3 separate regions of the Homo sapiens genome follow, and regions 2 and 3 are each linked to region 1. Evidence: promoter capture Hi-C in human tissues and cell types (Jung and others, 2019). All regions are on one chromosome and are shown on one strand. The core of a region is centred on a gene start or on the middle of the fragment in contact, and the rest is flanking DNA. Distances in the headings are between cores, read along the strand shown. Region 1 holds the start of IFNB1 (interferon beta 1). Region 2 has its middle 22 kb from the start of MLLT3. Region 3 overlaps MLLT3 (MLLT3 super elongation complex subunit).

Region 1 (2,700 bases), core at 83-2,582:
GCAGGGATAGCCATAGTAAATAACTAGTAACGGTATTGCAAGTTAAAGGAACAATCTCATTGCTTGAAATTTTAAATTTTGAAATACACTGCCAATTTTCATGGTCTCTCCTTGTAAGCTAGTTTGGGCTTTCTCACAGCATGACAGGCTCAGGGCAGTCAGACCATCCTGGCCAAAGAGCAGAGTGCCACAGACCACAACTGCTTCTAATCAGCCATCTTCCCAAAGCCTTCTCTTTTTTCTATTAATAACTTTGTATGAGATTCCATCTTAATACTTTTCTGTTGTTTGGTCTTGTAAGAGCTTATTTTTCCTGAACCAGGAAGTGGTTCAGGGCGGTTTTTCTAACTTCACAGAGCTCCCTCTTCTGTTAGCTTTTGTGAAATGGTCAAAAACATAGCAGCCTGCCTTCTGAGTTCTCCATCCCACCCTGGTTGGGCCTTCTCTATCCTTGTCTGTGTTGTTTATATCCTGCTGAAGTGTGATTCCACTTGTGGCAGTTTCTCCTCTGTGTAGGATCAAAAGGGCTGTGACTGGTTGGTTTGAAAATTTCTTATACCCTAGACTATTCCAGTGCCTTTCAGAAGTTTCCAAGGCCCTCTCACACTAATCTATTATCATATTGGGCAAAACTCCTTGCAGTTTCAGCTACTATTCCCTGATTGACTTTTCAGTAAATCTATCTCTCAGTCTTTCAGTATCCAAAGAAGATTGGTTCTAGGACCACCATCCCGCTGCCTCCACAGATACCAAAATCAGAGGATGCTCAATTCCCTCTTATAAAACGTTGCAGTATTTGCATATAATCTGCACATGTATTTCTGTATATTTTAAATCATCCCTAGATTACTTATAATACCTGATACAATATAAATGCTAAATAGCTGTAACACTGTATCTTTAAAATTTACATTATTTTTTGTTGTTGTATTATTATTTTTATTGTATTTTTAAAAAATATTTTCCATCTACAGTCAGTAGAATCCACGGATACAGAACCTATGGATAGGAAGGACCAACTGTATCTTTTAGTGTTTTGAGGTTCTTGAATTCTCAGGTCGTTTGCTTTCCTTTGCTTTCTCCCAAGTCTTGTTTTACAATTTGCTTTAGTCATTCACTGAAACTTTAAAAAACATTAGAAAACCTCACAGTTTGTAAATCTTTTTCCCTATTATATATATCATAAGATAGGAGCTTAAATAAAGAGTTTTAGAAACTACTAAAATGTAAATGACATAGGAAAACTGAAAGGGAGAAGTGAAAGTGGGAAATTCCTCTGAATAGAGAGAGGACCATCTCATATAAATAGGCCATACCCATGGAGAAAGGACATTCTAACTGCAACCTTTCGAAGCCTTTGCTCTGGCACAACAGGTAGTAGGCGACACTGTTCGTGTTGTCAACATGACCAACAAGTGTCTCCTCCAAATTGCTCTCCTGTTGTGCTTCTCCACTACAGCTCTTTCCATGAGCTACAACTTGCTTGGATTCCTACAAAGAAGCAGCAATTTTCAGTGTCAGAAGCTCCTGTGGCAATTGAATGGGAGGCTTGAATACTGCCTCAAGGACAGGATGAACTTTGACATCCCTGAGGAGATTAAGCAGCTGCAGCAGTTCCAGAAGGAGGACGCCGCATTGACCATCTATGAGATGCTCCAGAACATCTTTGCTATTTTCAGACAAGATTCATCTAGCACTGGCTGGAATGAGACTATTGTTGAGAACCTCCTGGCTAATGTCTATCATCAGATAAACCATCTGAAGACAGTCCTGGAAGAAAAACTGGAGAAAGAAGATTTCACCAGGGGAAAACTCATGAGCAGTCTGCACCTGAAAAGATATTATGGGAGGATTCTGCATTACCTGAAGGCCAAGGAGTACAGTCACTGTGCCTGGACCATAGTCAGAGTGGAAATCCTAAGGAACTTTTACTTCATTAACAGACTTACAGGTTACCTCCGAAACTGAAGATCTCCTAGCCTGTGCCTCTGGGACTGGACAATTGCTTCAAGCATTCTTCAACCAGCAGATGCTGTTTAAGTGACTGATGGCTAATGTACTGCATATGAAAGGACACTAGAAGATTTTGAAATTTTTATTAAATTATGAGTTATTTTTATTTATTTAAATTTTATTTTGGAAAATAAATTATTTTTGGTGCAAAAGTCAACATGGCAGTTTTAATTTCGATTTGATTTATATAACCATCCATATTATAAAATTGCCAAGTACCTATTAGTTGTTCTTTTTAAAATATACCTGCAAAGTAGTATACTTTCTGGCCCCTGCCTTTAAGGAATTTAAAATTCAAGAAAGCCATGTGGAATATATAAGGTAAGAGACAATAAGGGGACCTGAACCTTATGGGGGAATAAATATGGCATGAACTGCTGTGGGATTAAAAGAGAAAAGGAAAGCTGGAGGGTCTGGAACTAAACCTGGGGTTCCCATTCCTCCTACTGTGTGCTCCAGATTCTCTCATCATAAAGTTAGAATTGAGCTGGCCATCAGGAATAGCCAGAGGAATATGTCAGCTTTTGTGTTCTCCCTAACCTTCCCACGTTATTTGGGGGATACTTTGCTCCTCGAAAGATTTTTAAATAATTATGTGCCCCCCACCATCCCTGCAAGCTTAAGGGTGAGAAGTCCCATTTACTTCCATGACACTATTAAGCAGCAATCTCTTTATTCTGCTCATCA
Region 2 (2,700 bases), core at 9-2,508, 430 kb after region 1:
TGGATATTCTCCCTTTTTCTTAAAGTAACTTAAATAAGTTTTTCTTTCTTTTAACCAAAAGAGTCCTAATTCAAGAACTTGCCCCATCAGACATTAAAACAGCACATAAAACACAGTATTACTAGTGTAAATGTTTATGAGCATATCTTTGAAACAAAATAAATAGCCAGAAATATATACTATCTCTTACTTATAAAACTGATGTAAATAATAAAGTTGACATCACATTGCAATATGTAAAGGAAAAATCATTCAATACGTTGGTTAACTGTGAAAACTTAAGTTAAATTGTCAACTTGCAATATATACTAAAATAAATTCCAGATATTAAATGTGAAAAGTGTTCACTGTAAGACAAACCAATGACTACTAAAACATGTGCCTGAAATATGGCAAAAGTTTGCCAAAGTGCAGGTTAAAAAACTAGGAGTTTATTTAGGGAACTATTTACTTGTTCTTGAGCTGAAGGAATAATTGTCTAAGTATAAAATCAATGGCCTAAACCACAAAGGAATCAACATCGGATATTTGACTACATGAAAAATTCGAGTCTACACAACAGAAGCCATCAAAACATGAAAGGTAAATTATAAAGTAGAAAAATATTTCAATATATCTGACAAAAAGCATGTAGTAGTTTAAATCAATAATGAAAACACTGAAACTTCAATGGAAAAAAGTACAATGTGCAGACAAATCTCAGAAGCAGAAATATAAATACCAATAAATATGTGAAACAATTCACTTTTACTGCTATAATACAAAAAGTTAACAATTTCAATGATATATCATTTTATTCTACTAGAAAAGTTATGAAAATACAAAATTTAAGGCTGGTGAGGTTGTTTCAAAAATAAGCATGATCGTACACTCCTATTAAGAGTCTAAACCAGTATGTATTTTTTAGAAAGCAATTTGGCAACATATCAAGAACTTTGTAAAAGATCCATATTCTTTGACCCAGATTCCCATTCTAGAACCTTTAAAGGCATAAAATGTATCCCCTTTTCTCAGAAGTGTACATATGCAAGAAGCATAAAGCTGACAGCCAGAGGGAAAGAAGGCAGTAGGAAGAAAGAGGTGGCATTAAGATTCTGGTTGTAGTCACTGAAGGCCCTAAAACGGCCCTGGTTCTTCAGAATCTGTGAGCTATCTCAGAACCTTTCCAATAAATCCTCCCCTATGATCCCTTAGTCTCTGTCCCCTGCACAAAAAGATAATTGACTAACATAATGACCCTGGCCTGAAATGTGTATTCTTTCCTTTTGCTAGATTAACCTACTGTATAATTTTGGGTAAAAGGTGCTGATTGCTTTGATTCATTGCAGTTGGTTCTAGTCCAAGCTTAATTAGTTTGGAATTAAACTGGATCCAATACTAGCACCTTTTATAGTGTCTATTGAAATACAATATTAGAGCGATGAAATTCTTCTTGAATGAGAGGTGTTGGTGAGATTTTTAGCCAAGACAAAGTCATGTTTACTAGCTGGATTAGCCAGGGTTTCTAAAGGGACAGAACTACTAGGATATACGTATATATGAAGGGGAGTTTATTAGGAGAATTGACTCACACAATCGCAAGGCGAAGTCCCACAGTAGGCCATCTGCAAGCTGAGCAGCAAGGAAGCCAGTGCGAGTCCCCAAACCTCAGAAGTAGGGAAGCCGACAGTGCAGCCTTCAGTCTGTGGTTGAAGGCATGAGAGCCCCCAGCAAACCACCCATGTAAGTCCAAGAGTCCAAAAGTGAAGAACTTGGAGTCTGATGTTCAATGACAGGAAGCATCCAGCACGGGAGAAAGATGAAGACTGGAAGATTCAGCAAGTCTGCTGTTTACAACTTCTGCTTGGCGGCTGATTAGGTGGTGCCCGACCAGCTTGAGGGTGGATCTGCCTCTCCCAGTCCACTGACTCAAATGTTAATCCCCTTTGGCAACACCCTCAGAGACACATCAGGAACAATACTTTGCATCCTTCAATCCAATCAAGTTGACACTCAGTCTTAACATTCACACCAGCCAAAATAGATCAGAAACAAAAATTAGAAGAAATTTACTGGACTTAGCCTAATTAGTGAGATAGAGCTGCTTCGTGCGGTGCTGTGGTTAAGTGATTAGGTAACAATGATCCAAACACAATAAAATTCAACATCCTGAGGTGATGCCTTATGAATCCTTTCCTCCTTGAAAAGCCTGTAACACGGTGGACTACTCTTTTCTTGTCCTTTTCCCTAGCCTTCACAATTCCACACTCTCCTGATACTTCTCATTAGTCACATTCTCCCCTGGTTTTAATAATAGTTGGATTAGCTTGGATAAAGGCTAGAATGAGGTAACAAGAGACAAAAAATACTCAAATAAGATAAAGAGTTATTTCTCATGTAATATTTTGTGTATATTGTCCAGGAATAATATGGTGGCCCAGTAGGTTAGAGAACCTGAGGTCCTTTTAATGTATGACAGCCACTGGGTACGACCCTCATCCATGTGGTCAAAATGACCTCACTATCATATTTGCATTCAACCCCATGGGAAGCAGCGACATGCTTCTTTCCTACAAAAGGCATAATTGAGAAAGTGAAAACATCATTTCTAATAAATCCCACAAATGAGAACCTAATCATATGGCCACAATTAGCTGCACAGAGGCTGGGAAATGTAGTCTATATTTGGGGAATCGTGTGCCCAGCTAAAGCTCTATTGTA
Region 3 (2,700 bases), core at 186-2,685, 460 kb after region 1:
GCTTCAGTGGATGTGTGCATTGATGTTATTTTTATTTCCTATACTTAATGATTTTCTGTCTGCCCTGAGGGAACATGAGGGTGCTGCTCACATAGGCCACACCTGGGAGTTGTTGCTAGGCGTGGTAAGCTGCTTGATAGCAGTGATGACTTCTCAGAGGTCTCTGGTGAGAGATGTCTGCTTGTTGGTTGGATTCCTCAATTTTTATACTCAACTGTGGAGGTTCTCTATGCAGTCTATAAGCCATTGTTTTAAAATGTTTATTTTTGGATTTTTATTTGTATGCGTGCTTCCCATGATGTGACAAGTCCTGGGAAAAGTGCCAGCTTACATCACCCAGGAGAGACCTTGTCATACTGTAATTACACATGATTCAGATTGCAAGAGAAGGTTTCTCTGTTCATTGGGAATAGTTGTAAGTTCAAGCAACACCAAACATGCCACTTAATCCTGGGACTTATTTTTTGGCTTATAAAGTCTTTCAAAATGATAAGAATAAATATAGAATAAGAATGCCAAGAATTTGTATGTCTACTTCCAGTACCTTTTAAAGTGTTATGTTAGCTATATTGTAGATCTATAAGTGATAGAGTAAAATTCTACCAATTGGAAATTGGAGAAACTGAAAATATGAATTTGTGAGAAATCTGAGTTATAAGATCTTTAAAAGAAATGCTCATATTCTATAATAAATAAGCTGTGTTGGCTATAGTGACAATCTAAATCACTTTCACTGTATACAGTAGCTGCTAAACAGAGATGAGCCTTAGGACTGAGGATGAACTGCTCAGCCACAAAGATGAAAGAGTCCTTAGTTTTGTAAATCTTTGGTTTGGAAAAGTGAATTGATTTTCAGGTTGATTTCCTTTACTTCACAGTAATATTAGAATTTGTAGGAGAAAAAATTATAGTATTTTTAACTTGTTGCTTAATGAGAATTATGTATACCATTTCAGAATTGAGCTAATTGGATTTGAATTAATGAGGTTTTACTCTGTCACAAAGATGGGTGGGAGACCTTCAATTTAAAACTAATGGCACAAAATCTTAGAAAAGAGATTTTGATGAAATGGTGAAGCCTGGAATGTCTATTAGCCATGACAAAACAGGTAGGTCAGAGTATGATGCATTTTTAAACTATTTACCTGCAAAAAAAGACAATATCTTATTTATTAGTACCAAAGATTTGTACTAGTCTGATATGACTGAAATGAATAGTCACATTCAAAACATTTCTTTTAAAATATTAATGTTTTTGTTTTTAGTATGATGTGAATTTGAGTGAACTTTTTTTCCAGTTACAGCCATCCTTACTATTGCAATTTGTTTCACTGACATTTATGATATGAAATCTGTTGCTTATTATTTTATGGAAGCTAATTTGGCCACTGGTAGGATTTGATAGCTTTTTATTTGTAGCCTTAGTCCTTTGAGTGGGCAGATAAAGCTTAATAAATCCACTCTAACAATTTTCCTTTAAGTGTATGAGGCCAGCTTTACTGCATAGTTTTGATTTGTGTTAAATGGTCTTCTGAAATAATTTGGGTAAGTTTTTATCAAGGTAACTAATACTTGAGGGCTTACTAGCTGAAGACGTTGTGTGCATCTGGTATATTTTCTCTTCAGAGTCATTTAAAAGATATAAGGAACAAAATGAAGATGAGTGACTGTTCTGATAGATTCAGCGAGTGTTATTTGTGTAGGGTTCTGTATGAAATTTAGATGACCAGTGAGAACAGTTTTACTGCTGTGCATTTTGAAGCACATAAAGTATAATTTTCCAAGGCACTTAAAAGCTGAATTGTTGGTGGAAATCTCATATTCTGTGGGTGAGAATGTAAATCGGGCAGGGGTATTTTGGAGAACATTGGCAAGGTCTATTAAGATTTTTAATGTTTATACTGTTTAGCCTAGCAAATTTACTTCTAGGAATTTTCTGACAAATATGTTCTCACAAGTACACAAAGATACAGCATGTTTCTTGTGACTGTTTTTGTAATAGTCAAAATTTGGAAGAAAGCCATATAGGGGCCCTCAACTGGATACAATTAAATGATGATAATCTATAAAAAGAGGTATATCTATTTGTAGATGCAGGAAGATCTTCAAGAATAATTAAGTGAAATAAGGCAAGTTGCTAAATCATTGTGATCTCATTTTTTCAAAAAAGTGCTTGTGCAGATAAGTATACGTATGTCTATACAAGTGTATGTCTGTAAATAAGTAAATTTGCATTAGCGGGCATCAAACTCTTACTAGTAGTTTAGTAGCTACTTGTGGTGGTGATGGGAGGTTATTTTTGTAGTGTTTGATTTTTTTTTAAAGTTAACTCCGTATATTTAAAACATTCAATGAGCACACATAACTTTTTAAAACTGAAAAAGAATAAAAAACCAATATAGAATATTGTTTTAAAAATAGGGATTAGCATGTAGCTATCTAAAAGTTAAAGATCTAAAAGTGATCTTTAATATCTTGGGTAGATATTGTTGCTTAAAGATGGAGAGAATTTAGGGTTAGGAATTACAGACTTGTATTCAAATGTTGGTTTAAGAGACTCCTTGTATGGTTTTGGACAAGTTACTTCTGTGTCTCTTTTCTCATTTGCATTATGGAAATGATGATAAAATAGAACTATTACCTCATAAGTTGAGGTTGAAATGTAAATCAACTGTTTTCATACTTATTGGGCTTAAGATC

The links. The method cuts DNA at HindIII sites, captures the fragments that hold promoters and counts their contacts. A contact is called where the count stands out against the background at its distance.
Region 2: a contact is called between a fragment that was not itself captured here and the fragment with the promoter of IFNB1 in region 1, in 1 of the 25 tissues and cell types used here (lymphoblastoid cells).
Region 3: a contact is called between a fragment that was not itself captured here and the fragment with the promoter of IFNB1 in region 1, in 1 of the 25 tissues and cell types used here (lymphoblastoid cells).

The regions. Positions count from the first base shown.
Region 1 is chr9:21,076,574-21,079,273 of GRCh38, reverse strand. It overlaps IFNB1 (interferon beta 1), which reads left to right and starts at 1,332. Exons shown (of 1, transcript NM_002176.4): 1 at 1,332-2,170. The coding sequence starts at 1,405. The coding sequence ends at 1,968. The HindIII fragment of the contact is 10,658 bases long and covers 1-2,700 here.
Region 2 is chr9:20,643,029-20,645,728 of GRCh38, reverse strand. No RefSeq gene overlaps it. Among named protein-coding and RNA genes, the nearest start is that of MLLT3, 22 kb to the right of the region's middle. The HindIII fragment of the contact is 3,855 bases long and covers 1-2,700 here.
Region 3 is chr9:20,616,110-20,618,809 of GRCh38, reverse strand. All of the region lies in intron 2 of MLLT3 (MLLT3 super elongation complex subunit), which reads left to right. Among named protein-coding and RNA genes, the nearest start is that of MLLT3, 5.0 kb to the left of the region's middle. The HindIII fragment of the contact is 4,882 bases long and covers 1-2,700 here.